Regions from separate parts of the Homo sapiens genome. Here all the other regions are linked to region 2. The links are contacts of gene promoters, found by promoter capture Hi-C in blood cells and fetal thymus (Javierre and others, 2016). All regions are on one chromosome and are shown on one strand. The core of a region is centred on a gene start or on the middle of the fragment in contact, and the rest is flanking DNA. Distances in the headings are between cores, read along the strand shown. Region 1 has its middle 100 kb from the start of ZPLD1. Region 2 holds the start of ZBTB11-AS1 (ZBTB11 antisense RNA 1). Region 3 overlaps TFG (trafficking from ER to golgi regulator).

Region 1 (4,637 bases), core at 1,737-4,236, 860 kb before region 2:
CAGGAGGATCACTTAAGGCCAGGAGTTGAAGACCAGCCTGGGCAACATAGCAACATCCCAGCTCTACAAAATAAAATAATAAAAATTAGCCAGGCGTGGTGATCCATGCCCATAATCCCAGCTACTCAGGAGGATAAATTGAGAAAATTGCTTAATCCCAGGACAGTGAGGCTGCAGTGAGCTATGACTGCACTACTGCACTCCAGCCTGAGCAAGAAAGTAAGACCTTGTCTCAAAAAATAAAATAAAATAAAATGAAAGAAAGAAAAGAAAACAAAAGAATAAAAAGAAGTGAAATCCCAGAAATCTATACTGACTTGTCCAAAGCTATGTAAACAAAAAGTACCAAATCAGAACCAAAATGTGGGCCCCCTGACACCCAGGTCAATATATTTTTCTCCCCAAGAATTTGAGAAGTATGTTCAGTGAAACACTAGCTTCTTGGAGTGGCAATAGCCAGTGCTCAATACATTAGTTCTGTGATCAAGTACATTTGGGAAATTCTGAATTAAACAGAGTTAAGCAGATTTATTTACTGGGAAGCCTTTAGTATGATAATGTATATTGATTTACTAAATATAACAGTGTCTTCAGTTATGTCTTCTTTCTGAAGCTCCTGTGTAACCCAAATCCGCTTGTCTGAAGATAATGGCCAGCAATGGAGAATTTAGTAAACATTATATAAAGATAGTAGAGCATATTGGTTAGGGCAAAATGCTTGAGTTCAAATGCCAAATTTACTAGCAAGGATGACTTTTACCAAGTAATTTCGCCCCTCGATGCTTCATTTTATTTATCTGGAAAACATAAATAAAAATAATAGCACTGCCTCAGAGAGTTTCTGTGATGATTACATTATTACAGATGTAAAACCCTAGAACAGAGTCTGGCATATAGAAAGTGTTCAATAATCATTAGCTATTATTAGAGGAGATAGAAAACAGGACATTGTAATGTAGGTAGCAAATATCTTAATAAATACCAATTAATGTTTTTATCTTCTCTCCAAAGGCTGCTTTGATCTGTTCAACAACCTATGGCCTTTTCCATTCTTCCTCCAACACACTGTGCTCAGATCCAGAGCCCTCCTCTTTCCCTGTCATTTTCATCTGCACTTGTTTTTTTGTTCTACAAGAAGCTTGGATGCCAGGTAACCAGACAAGCCACCTTCTATCCTGAGTTAATTTCTTCGTAGCCTCTCCATTTTTTTTTAAGAAAGCGGGATACCGCTTTGATAGCCCCACACAATAGAATCCTCCTACCACCTATTAAGAGGACCTTTTTTGGTGTACATTAAAAGTCTTTTTTCTTTGATAAAAGTCCAATATCAAATGAAAGACCACTCTTTAGGAAGCAGTGCCTTGCAGCGTGCAGACGTCAAACTTAACATCTATAATTTTATATTCATATTTCTAGGGCTTGTGACTCTTTGTAGACCATTAGAATTAGTTGTAGTACAGTTTAGGCTACTGTAATAAAGAAACTAAAAAAAAATATTTAAGCTTAAGTCAGACAGGCATTGGCTTATTTCTCATGTAAGGTCTGCATAGGCATTCCAGGGCTGTTACGGCACATCAGAAGTGATGGGAAGCCAGGCTTCCTTTATCTTGTTGCTCTATTTCTCTTTAAAACTTAGCTTCCTTCTCTTGGTTCAGTGGCTGTTCCATTCCCATCATCATATCCACATTCCAGCCAGCAGAAAGGTAGAAAAAGACAAGGGGAGAAGAAAATGCATGTTCTTCATGAAGGCATGGCACCAAAGTTAGCACATATCACACAGTTGATGCCACACTTAAGAAGCTAGGGCATATTTGGCTGTATAATCATGTACCAGCACAAAGTTCTATTGAAAGAAAAAGAAAAACAATGGTTATTCTGGGATAAATAGCAGAATCTGCCACGTCTGGGTTAAACAAAATTGATAATTTTATGCCTGATAACCCCCATGAAAAAGGCTCTCGTAACAAAAATCTCCCCTCTCCCACTTCATACCCTAAACTCTTGGCTAATTTCTTTAATCATGTTTATTCTAAACAGCCCTCAAAATAAAATGGAGTTATTATTTGGAAGGCTGAAGTGAGGATAGATTTCGTTCAAAAAAAGATAGCATAGAAAAAAATAATGGAGGTATATTTTCAAGGTTTCTAAGTACTTGAATTCAATCATTTTTAAATATGATTAAAATTTAATAATTTTTTAAAATTTAATCACCTGAATTTTTAAGAATGAATGGTTTTCTAGTCTCAGAATATATGCCTTCTTTATCTGTATCTATGTGTTTGGTTAAAACCTTTTTATCTCCTGTGCCATTTTGATCTATTGAGCAAGATGAAATCAGTCTCTATCCTTTGTTTCTACCATTTCTAATCGATCTATTTTTATTATTAATAATAATAGTTAACATTTTTGAGTACTTGCTGCTTAATTTATTTCTCCCAAATGCCCAGTGATGTATGCACTATTGTTATCCCTAGCTCACAGATTACAAAATTGGAACTAGCAAGGGCTATAGCCAGGATGCCACCCAGATAATCATCTATTGAGCAACCAACTAAAACCCTATGCAGTGCTTTATCAAGCTAACAAGCTTTTTGTACAAAAACAGAATCAGGGTGGGTGATCAAGCATAAAGCATTCAGTACAAACAAACACTGCAGAAGAAATAAAAGATTGTTCACAATAACAGAAAAACTAAAGACAAGAAAAATTTTAAGCAGTCTTTAGTGTTTTTAATTCCCTAGTTCCAATGCTTCCTAACCAAGAAAGACCATGAACAGACCACTTCGGTTCTATACAGAAATGAAAGTAGAAAATGCAAAATATTTTCATTAATGAAAATCCCAGAATTATTCAGAACTGGCAAATGATAATATGTATGGTTTTAACTAATCATTTTTCAAGAGTAGATAACAGGTTCCTTGATAGAAATCCTTGGCTTGTTTTCATTTCTAAAATGTGTGCTGTTGACTTTTCCATCACATTGCTCTAAATGAACAGGAGAACGTGGGCTGAGCCTGAACAACGAGAACTCTAAAAGCGTGCGCAGGTAGCACATTTGTGTGTGCAGATGTTTAGAAGGAAAGGTGCTCCCAGGAATTGCTAACCAGAGGATTAGAGCTCAGCACCAGACAAGCTGTCATTTTCTGTGGTTGTATTTCTGAGCTTATTTACTAGGTGGCGATATAATCTTAAAAATAAGCATTAACATTTCGGTGCCAAAGTGTCAGCTCTCCAGTTTTTTCACTGAAGCGTTTTTCACTTCCACTCCTTCTTTTCTTTGGCTCTTACTTTTGCTGTCTTTCTCTGAAATTTTGTGTCATCTGCTTTATTTTCATAACAGAAAAACTATTAAACCATAAAAGCTGGCTTGAGAAAGAGAAGCTTGAAATCCCTCAGTAGTATGATCTGAATATAGAAATATAGGATCTTCAGTCTTTTGCTATCAGCAGCTCCTGAGGGCTGACTAACAGTCAGATTTATTTGCTGCATATCTGGAATTCTTTTTATTGCTAAAACGTTAGAGAAGTAAACCCATTTTCTGGTAAATGGGTAAACATATACACATATATATCTTTCTCAATACTCCTAGAAATAGACCTCCTTGAGACCAATGAAAAGCAATACATTATCAAATGTTTTTGCAAATCCAAATCCTCCACGCTTACTTCCTCTATCTCATCTTCACACATCACACCACCAGCCTCAAAGTGTATAGTAATTTTGGAAGAACTTACAGAATTATGAATAAGCAAATATCAGTTAAGGTGCTTTATAAAGAGTTAAATGGCATTCAAATACTAATTACTATTATTTTACAATATCCAGTTCTATCATCCAGGGACAAGGTAGGGGATATCTTATCTGGAAATTAGAAATAAGAAGCCTTCTTTTTTCTTGCCTTTTAAAATTATCTTGAGAAAATATCATCCCACTGGCCTATAGATGATGACCCAGAAAATGCTACCACTACAAGTTCATGTAATTACCCACTAATGTTACATGGTCATCTACTACACAGCATTGTGCTGGACATTATGACACTGTGAGAATTACTGAGGAAGATAAACCATAATCTCTCACCTCAAGAAGCACATATGTTGGTAAAGCACAGTAAACACAGTAGTTCTGACATAATATTTCTGCACTCAGAGCTCAGAGAGAGTAGGGAAGGCAGGAGGAAGTTGAAAGAAAAATAATAGATGATTCAAACTTGAACACATCCTGGAAGGATGGGAAGGATATTGACATGTGAGAAGGGGAAAGGTGCAAGAGGAGAACCTTCCAGACAGATTGACCTTGCAACTGGGATTGAACAAGTGTTCATTTAAGCCAGAATCAATGAGGAAAGGTAATGTGGGTGGATGCTACTTAAAAGGGGGAAACAGAGAAAGATTGGCGGAGTGGGGTTTGGATTGTGGAAGGCCATGAGAAGCAAGCAGAAGAGTAGATTTAATTTGACAGCAAACACCATTTCGAGGAGCACCAGAGCAACACTGTGAAAGAGTTGTTTTAGAAAAATCAGCCTATGCTGGGCCCGGTGGCTCACACCTGTAACCCCAGCACTTTTGGAGGCCAAGGCAGGGGGATCACCTGAGGTCAGGAGTTGGAGACCAACCTGGCCAACATGGCAAAACCCT
Region 2 (4,834 bases), core at 947-3,446:
CTCCCGAGTAGCTGGGACTTCAGGCCCAGTAGAGACAGGGTTTCACCATGTTAGCCAGGATGGTCTCCATCTCCTGACCTCGTGATTTGCCCGCCTCGGCCTCCCAAAGTGCTGGGATTACAGGCGTGAGTCACCGCGCCCGGCCAAAATATTTAAAGACAGTATGACAGGAGAGTGGGGTTGGCCTGACACGTAGACCAGCCTCCTGGGTTCGCAGAGGGTGCATTTGGTCTTCTGCTCTCACTGCCCGACCCCATGGGGGAAAGAGGTGCATCTCCATTTTTAAATTCCTCCTTTGAGCTATAGTGGCAAACTCAGCAACTAAGTAGATCCCAAGCCTGGTAGTTTCTTTTTTCTTCTGGGCCTTGAGAGCTCATGTCCCCGCACCTGGAATCTTTCAAGGATGTCCGGGCCATCCGGGAATTACTGCGTGTGCACACACACAAAAACACGCCCCTAACACCAGAGGCTGGCTGTATGATTCTGTTTTCGAGCCTACTGTATTCACCTGTCTGCCCGTCAGCTACTTCTAGGAGCGTCAAAGGGCCTCACCCAGAGACTACAGACCCTCCGGTGGAGAAGTGTACTAGGCCGTGTCTGCAGCTGGAGCCCTCGGCCTGAAATGTTCTGGCTTTAGCAAAGCGGCGACAGTGTCCAACCCCAGTCCCCGAGGAGGGATGTCAGCCCTGGGCCCCTGTGAGCGCTGCAGATTCGTCCCAGGAAAGGGTGACCGGGGTCGCTGCTCCGGGATTACCAGCTAAATACCTGTATTAGCATCCTCAGCACGCACTGGGAGACGCAGCTCAAGTCCGCTCCCCTTCTTGCACCCTCATATATATTTGGTGCAAAATGGAGAACCTTTTCCCCTACGTTTGTGTAAAAATATATGTAAATAAAGCCTTAAAATAGTGTTACCGACCCCCTTTTCCACTCGCAATAACATTGACTATAAATGCTGATAATTCCAAAAGAATCTCGACTCTTCCTTGAGTAGTCTGGAGCTAGCAGGTGCAAGTTTAGAAACAATAACTCATCACTGAGGGAGGCACTGAAAATTTTATAACTGTTAACTGGAATCTAAATTTCCATGTAAATGGGCTGTCTCTGGTCCCGTGTCAAGAGACTAATATTTTTCCAGAAGCCTGAAAATATGCTTTTATGATGTTGGGAGTCTCAAACGTAAAAACGGACTCCTAACCCTCTGGATGTTTCGGCTGAACTCTCAACTGTCCACCAGCTCCCCCTACACGTGGCTCCTTAGAAAGCGTGGAAAAGGGAAAAATGAAAAGAGAAACTGCCAGGACTTAAGATGTCTGCTTAAAGACTCCCTCGAACTGCAGTGAAGGGTCCTACCCGCTTCCAAAATGTCCACCCGCATTCCTGACGTCACTGGATCGGCTCCATCAAGCCAGAAAACGAGAGTGCGCTCCAATCAGGGCTCAGTCCCCGCCCTTGCCTTGCGTCACTTCCGGTGGTGCAGCAGCCATTTTGTCAGTCGCCAGCGGATCCCGCGCGCTGGAGAAGTGCAGTTCCCCCTGGTTACCAACTCGCCCGCTTTTCCTTCGGACTAAGGGAGCCGTCGAAGAGCGCTCGCCAAAGGCGCAGCCGTTTCTCCCTACGGTGCCGCCGCTCCTCCTGCAGCCGCCCGTAGGTAGCGGGCCGTTTTCCTCACCTGTCCCTGACAGGCGCCCTCAGGGAGCCGCGGTCCGCGATGTCAAGCGAGGAAAGCTACCGGGCCATCCTGCGTTACCTGACGAACGAGCGCGAGCCGTATGCGCCGGGCACCGAGGGCAATGTCAAGCGTAAAATCCGAAAAGCTGCCGCCTGCTACGTGGTGCGCGGCGGGACTCTGTATTACCAGCGGCGGCAGCGGCACCGCAAGACCTTCGCGGAGCTGGAGGTGGTGCTGCAGCCGGAGCGACGCCGGGACCTCATCGAGGCGGCGCACCTGGGTCCCGGCGGCACTCACCACACCCGGCATCAGACCTGGCACTACTTGTCCAAGACGTACTGGTGGCGAGGTGAGACCTAGCCCGCGGCGAGGGGGCGGGCTGGCGACTCGTTGCCTGGGCAAGGCTCGCTGGCGAGGCCTATGCGTACCCACGAGTCGGAGGGTCTCGGACGCCTCTGGGCGGCGGAGCTGCTGCCAGGCGGAGCCGAGAGGGTGGGGGACGCGAAAGGAGCCGCACTTCCCACAGGAAGGAGGCCGGCGAAGCTGGGGGCGGGCCCTGGCCCTGGGTGGGACCAAGGGGGCTTCCCCGGAGGCCGGGCCAGCCGCGGGGAGGGGCCGGACGCCTGGGCTGCGCCAGGTCCGCCTCCTTGGGCGGCCCCTTGAGGCTGTAGGCCCCGGCCCTCTGGAGGTGGCGTGTGGCTCGCGGCAGTGGAGGCTGCGGGGTGCACGTTTTCGACTGTGCTGACGTTTGGAAGGGGGGACGAGTCACCCGAAGCCGGGTCTCCCGTTTCTTTAGTGCTGCGCTTGGGTTTTGGCGAGCGAGTATGAGCTGCTCTGGACACATTCGCTAGTGTTCCTCAAATTTTGCCGCTGCTGCGTAAATAAGGAATAATACAATTATTTGCAGAAGTGATAAGGAGTGATTGAGAAATCGCCTTGAGCGTTTTTTTTTAAGAACAAGAAGTAAATGTAAAAGATATCAGTTACTGTTTTTGTTGTTTGGTTTTGCGGGGGCGGGGTGTTTGAGTAGACACGGGTCTCGCCTCGTTCCCCAAGCTGGTCTCCATCTGGCCTCAAGCCATCCTCCCGCCTCGGCCTCCCAAAGTGTTGGGATTTCAGGCATGAGCCACGGCGCCCAGCTTGATATTCGTAACTCTGAATGTTTTAATAATCTTTCCCCTAATGATGTGAAAAACGCGTTTGGGAACTGTGTAGCATTGTATATACGCAGAAAAGGTACGATTACTGTGACTTTTTGATTGTCAAAAAATACAGCTCTGAAGTTACTTGACTCCTTGGGAACCAGTTGTAAGGGAGGATAGCAAGTGTCCTTGGCTTCTTAACCATCTTCACTCTCCACAGTTAATGAATATTCAAACTGTCAGAATTAGTTAATAGTTTATAGTCCCATTTAAGAAATTTTGTTAGGAACAGTGCTGTCACTCTCCAATATGGCTACAGAAAAGTTATTTCATTCAAATCTTGGTTACTTCGTCTGTGAATAACGAAATTACTGAATAGTTTCTAAAGTTCTTTTCGGTTTATAAACATCATCAAGTTTATTCGTTTACGAACTATTGGATAATCAAATTCTTCCATTTATTTTCCACTTTAAACCAATATCTGAATTAAATTCCTGTAAGGACAGACAAATGCGAAGATTAAATTATGAGGTAATGAAGTAATCAGTGCATTTTGTTTGGATGGGTTTGGGTAGACATTAGTTTGTTGAACAAATGTCTCAGATTTAATACTTCAGGATTTGTTAAAGATGATAATTGTAACTATAGGTAACATTGATCAAGCTTGTATATGCAGGATGTAGTCGTTAGCCCTTGACATTTATTTAACCTTCATAAAACCTTAATACTTATCTCCCTTTTTTGGAGACAGAGCGTAGGGGGTCTTGCTTGGTGCAGTGACAACGATCACAGCTCACTGTAGCCTCGACCTCCTAGGCTCAGATGATCCTCCCTTTTCAGCCTCTATCTGTTTTACAGATGAAAAAACTAAAAGCACTAGGATGTTAAATAACACAACAAAAGTCACACAGCTGACCTTTGTGATCTCACACTTTTCTTAACCCAGTGTTATGTGGTATTTTGTGTTCAGAATTTTTCTTTTTCTAAGTTCATTATCTGTGAGTGATTCTAATCCAGTTGTTTTTTTTTTAATTTTTAGTGTGCAGTGTCTTAAAAGGCAAAAACCTGAGACGATGTTTATTTATTTATTTATTTATTTTATTTATTTATTTATTGAGACAGAGTCACTCTGTTGCCCAGGCTGGAGTGCAGTGGCGCGATATCGGCTCACTGCAACTCCACCTCCCGGGTTCAAGCGATTCTGGTGCCTCAGTCTCCAGAGTAGCTGGGATTACACCACGCCCAGCTAATTTTTCTATTTTTAGTAGCGACGGGGTTTCACCATGTTGGCCAGGCTGGGCTCGAACTCCTGAGCTCAGATGATCTGCTCACCTCGACCTCCCAAAGCGCTGGGATTACGGGTGTAAGCCACAGCGCCCGGCCAATACAACCTCTTTTGGTCTCTAAATCTACACTCATATAAATGCTTTTTTGATAAAGTTATATTTAACTCGAACCCATTGTTCCTTTCTTTCTTTTCTTCTCTTTTTTTCTTTGAGACAGAGTCTTGTTCTGTCACCCAGGCCGGAGCACAGTGGCGCGATCTCGGCTCACTGCAGCCTTCGCCTCCCAGGCTCACGTGATTCTGGTGCCTCAGCCTCCGGAGTAGCTGGGACTACAGGCGCGTGCCTCCACACCTAGCTAATTTTTGTTTTGCTCTGTTGGCCAGGCTTGTCTCGAACTTCTTACCTCAAATGATCCGCCCACCTCAGCCTCCCAAAGTGTGTGAGCCACGCCCCAAGCCCCATTGTTTATGTTCTGCAAAAAAAAAAAAAAACAGTCTCTGTGAATCCATAAATTTGACAAATTCCTAGGTTAAACAGGTTTCTTCACCGTAGAAGTCAGAGGTTCTAATAATAAATGTCAATTGCATATAGCTAAAATTTTTCTGAATTTATGACTTCAGTGTATACTTTTATAATCAGTGTGGGACATAATACAATTTGGAAAATATTGCTTGAATACTATTTGAAGATTGAAAGTATAAGGAACTTGGTGGCCAGGCAAGGTGGCTCATGCC
Region 3 (4,616 bases), core at 822-3,321, 940 kb after region 2:
AGTTCAACCTCCTAGTTTGGCATTAAGGGTCCAAACATTATTTCTCACAATTTCTCTTCTCACATGCCTCCCTTTCAGCTAAACTAACCTTCTCCCTACTCCCATAACATAGCTAATATTTTTTTGACCTCTATTTCTCTCCCACTAGATCCCATATATTTAAATATAACATTCACATATTTAAATATAACATTATTTAAAATCCAATTATAATTCCACACTTCTAGTAAGCCTTCTTGACTCATGAATACTTTTTCTACTAGTGAACTTCTATCTAGTTTACTTTTGTTAACTCATACTGACTTCTACTTTGCATTTCTGAATAGCTCTCACTTTCCCTCTTAAAGACTCTGCACTCTTTTGGCCGGGCTCCTGACTGTTGATTCTTTTTGTCTGCCGAACAAGGCCTAGCACTCTAACTTACATATGGAGCCACTATAATTCTTACAAAATAATGAACACAGAAATGAATGGAGAGAATATATTACAGTTCCAATGCTGTGACAGTCAAAAAAGATATTCTGAGGACAATGTAAATATGTCTTATTCCTTTAAATTCTTTCTGCTTTGGCAATGCAGAAGAGTGGTTAAAAGCATAGGTTTTGGAGCTAGACTACCCAGGTTCAAATCCTAGTGCTGTCACTCACTAGCTGTGTAACTCTGGACATGTTACATAATCTCTTTCTGTGCCTCAGTTTCCTCATCTGTACAAAGGATATACTAATTCCTACTTGATAAGGTTATTGTGAGGATTATGAGTTTACAAGAGCTTATAGCATGGGCTTATAAAAGGAATTATACAGCAAAAGCTTATAAAAGTGACTACTACTCAGAAAGTTCCATATAAGTACTTGCTATTATCAGCAGACTAATTTCTCTAAGGGCAAACCTCTATCTTCTGCTCTGATGTATCCCCAGAACTTACCACAGTATTAGGCACAGTTGACAGCTGACAGTCCAAGTATTAATAAGAACCTAAACTAGGATATAATAGTGGTAATGCAAGAGAGACTGATGATTGCCAAAATAAAATGGATGATGGTTTCTATCTACCACCATTTTACTTAAATTTATATCTATGTAGATAAATACACACATTCTTCCCACAAAAGACACTGTTATTAGCCTAAATATATATATTTATTACTTTGGCTCCTCTTTCCTCCCTTATATGTAATTTATTACAGTTAATATTCATTCCATGTTTGTAATATTTTATCCCTCCTTCCCACTGCCACATTCATTATTCTAATAAGCCACATTTTTACCACATCACACCTGAAGAACTACAAAAGTATCCTAGCTATGCATACAGTTTTTCCTACTATAATTCAACATACAAAGCTGTGAGAAAAATGGTCTTCAAATAATGTGAATCATATTAATATTATTCTAGTCTGGAATATACTACATTTAAATCAAAATTTAAAAGTCTGACCTCATCAAATTTTCACACAATTCTCTTTTGTGAGTAATTCCATGAAAGTCTCTAAGAAATACAAAATGGACTGTACACATTTCCAACTACTGATAAAGGCAAAGTAAATCCATCAGATAAACTCTCTCCCAGGTAACAACTAAAAACATGAACAAAACAAAAGAAACTATTTGAAATAACTGAAAGTCAATCAGAAACCAGAGGAGTTTACCCCAATAAAATTAGAATGGATAAGAATTAAAAGCGCTGACCTCTGCAGCTCCAATGGCAGAAAACCACAGTGTTAACAACCTTATGGCTAGACAAGCAGCTGAAGATTTAGGAGGAAAATCCCGGAAGTGAAGGTGCTACTGAAAGGGTAAGACCCACGATCTAGGTATATACACTCTGTCCAAATCCCCAGCTGACTATAGGGCTGGGAGAGCAGACGAGGATATCTCAAGAAGGCTCAGAGAAAAATGCAGCACCTAGAGCAAGCTGAAAGGACTGAGCATACATATCAGCTGCTATACACCATAGGGAGAAAGAAGGAGCAGTTTTGAGTATGTGAAAGTTATCAAAACCAAAATGAAGTCATTAATGTTAAAAAAAAATTAAAAACTCTGATAAGGCCATGAAGAGAGGATTCTTGCAAAAACTATCACAAAAGAGTTCAAAAACCACAAGCCTACACAAAGGCCATCACAACTTTGCAAAAAAAAAAGCAAAAAAAAAAACTTCTGTGACTGTGAGGACATCTGCCCAGAAACTGCCTGTCCAACCTCAGACTGGCATCACTCTTGCTAATGATCTTTGTAGCCAACAATAATTATTTCAAAACAATTATATATTCTCCTCATTTTTTCCTTTAAAAACCTTTGTCTGCCTTTACCTCACTGAATATGCACATAGTTTACTATGGCATGCATATTTTCAATGCAATGCTCTATTCCCAAATACCTTTTTCTTTTAGAGAGCGCTTTTCTGTTTGTTATTTATGTTAAGTCCATACAAATCAACTCCCTGCTAGATCAACAATAACAGAAAATCCTCAAAAGAATATAAGTCCAAGTCACTACAACATATTAACCAGAATGTCTAGTTTTCAACCAAACACTATCAGACAGGCAAAGAAACAGAAAAATGTGACCCTACTGGAGTTGGGGGGAGTGTGTGTGGGGGAGAGGAACCCAGTCAATAGAAACTGACTCCAAATGGGTCCAAGTGTTACATATTGCAGATAAACATTTTAAAGCAGCTAAATATTTTTAAAGAATCAAACATAAATACATTCAAACAATTAAAGGAAAATATAGACTTAATGAATGTAAAATAAAGAATCTCAACAGAAAAACAGAAACTATAAAAACCCAATGGAAATTCTAGAGCTGAAAGCACAATTAAACAATTCACTAGAAAGGTTCCACAGCATATTAGAAATCACAGCGACCTTGAAGAGTTCAACAGAAATCACCCAACCTGAAGAACAGAGAGAAGACTGAAGAAAAATGAACCTTAATGACCCATGAGACAGTATCAAGCTCTCCAATGTATGTGTTATTAGAATCCGAAAAGAGAAAAAGCAGGAAAAAATAATGAAGAAATTATAACCAAAAGTTAAACAGAATAAAACAATATAGGTACTGCTTTAAGGTTAAAAACTTATTTATATAAAAACCCACTGTATACTCAAGCAATTTAACAAGAAAATCTACATTTAATTTTCAATTTCTCTAAGATGAGGAGATAAGACAAATCAAATATAATTCGAATACTGCAACTAATCAAATTATAAAATAGTTCAGATTTTTAAAAACTTTCTAAATTTTACTTTCAAAAATTTACTTGAACCCAACAGTGCTTATTCTTTAAGGGGGAGGGTGCTACTCTTGGGGAGAGGACATAAGAAAGCTTTCTGAAGTGCTGGAAATCATCTACATCTTAATCTAGTTAGTCTTTTACATAAGTGTACACATATGTAAAAATTTGTTAAGCAGAACCCTTAAGATTTGTGCACTTCACCATATCCAAGTTATTCTTCAATTAAAGAAAGAAGGAAAGGGAAGAACGGAAAGATGAAGGAAACGAAGGGTGTAAAGGAGTTGGAAACCAACTTACCTGAAACCTGATCATCTGTTAAGCCAAACGCTGACATAACATTTTTATTGATTTCATCTTGGTTTTTTAAAGGATCAAAAGCAGACATACTTGCTGCCATAACCTGAGTAGACTGTTTTCCAGAAGAATCAGAAGCAGACTTTTCTTCCCTACCATCCACAGTATCTGTAAAAATAGAGGAATAAACAAAAACTTGTTTCCTTTTTATCTATATTCAGTAAGGCCTAAAAGTACAAGGGAAATAATGCAGGTGTATAATGATAGTCTGGAATGTTAAGCATGTCGGAATATAGGATTACAGATCATTTTAATTCCTTTATTTTTTTTATATTTTTCCTTCTAGTAACAGGGAGAAGAGGGCAAAAAGAAACAGAAGATGAACAAAAGCTTTCCAAAAAAATTATTTACCTCCTTTTGTAAGAAACATTAGATGAAAAAAATACAAGCTCCTTGATAAAGAGAAACATTTTACTTTTTTTGGTTTTTTTGGAGCCCAATAACCTATATCCTAGTATCAGATACCCACTGGGCACTCTGGAAATAATAATTATAGGAACTAAGGCTTTATTTTATAAAAAGAAACTGAACTAAGGTTATAATCTCAAATTTTACATTTTATTTCTACTGTCTACTGGTCCACTATTAAATTACATGGAAATCAAGCCAACCATAATTAATTCATAATCTTCCATAAATAGCACATTAAAAACATTTTTGAATTTGCTACCTTCTATTTTAATATGTATTACTTATTAAAATACTTATTAAAATGCTTACAGATGAAATGATGTATATGGGATCTGCATCAAAATAATACAGGAGGGGAGCCGGGTGCAACAGCTCATGCCTGTAATTCCAGCACTTTGAGAGGCCGAGGTGGGTAGATCACTTGAGGTCAGGAGCTCGAGACCAGCCTGGCAAAACCCAATCTCTACCAAAAATACAAAAATTAGCTAGGCACAGTGATGCATGCCTGTAATCCCAGCTACTCAGGAGGCTGAGTCACGAGAATCACTTGAACCCAGGAGGCAAAGTTTGTAGTGAGCTGAGATTGTACTCCACTCTGGGTAACAGGAGGGGC

What was found. The method cuts DNA at HindIII sites, captures the fragments that hold promoters and counts their contacts. A CHiCAGO score of 5 or more calls a contact.
Region 1: a contact is called between a fragment that was not itself captured here and the fragment with the promoter of ZBTB11-AS1 in region 2, in 2 of 17 cell types (total CD4 T cells and activated CD4 T cells). The highest score is 6.4, in total CD4 T cells.
Region 3: a contact is called between a fragment that was not itself captured here and the fragment with the promoter of ZBTB11-AS1 in region 2, in 2 of 17 cell types (monocytes and erythroblasts). The highest score is 8.1, in monocytes.

What each region holds. Positions count from the first base shown.
Region 1 is chr3:102,535,217-102,539,853 of GRCh38, reverse strand. No RefSeq gene overlaps it. Among named protein-coding and RNA genes, the nearest start is that of ZPLD1, 100 kb to the right of the region's middle. RefSeq lists a silencer at 3,035-3,329. The HindIII fragment of the contact is 794 bases long and covers 2,590-3,383 here.
Region 2 is chr3:101,673,792-101,678,625 of GRCh38, reverse strand. ZBTB11-AS1 (ZBTB11 antisense RNA 1) reads right to left here and starts at 2,196. Exons shown (of 1, transcript NR_024407.1): 1 at 1-2,196. ZBTB11 (zinc finger and BTB domain containing 11) reads left to right here and starts at 1,494. Exons shown (of 11, transcript NM_014415.4): 1 at 1,494-2,021. The coding sequence starts at 1,712. LOC124906262 (endogenous retrovirus group K member 5 Gag polyprotein) reads right to left here and starts at 2,181. Exons shown (of 3, transcript XM_047449415.1): 1 at 388-2,181. RefSeq lists enhancers at 1,802-2,356, 4,250-4,750 and a silencer at 2,073-2,442. The HindIII fragment of the contact is 10,842 bases long and covers 1-3,479 here.
Region 3 is chr3:100,731,592-100,736,207 of GRCh38, reverse strand. TFG (trafficking from ER to golgi regulator) reads right to left here. Exons shown (of 8, transcript NM_006070.6): 5 at 3,536-3,700. Among named protein-coding and RNA genes, the nearest start is that of TFG, 24 kb to the right of the region's middle. The HindIII fragment of the contact is 2,519 bases long and covers 812-3,330 here.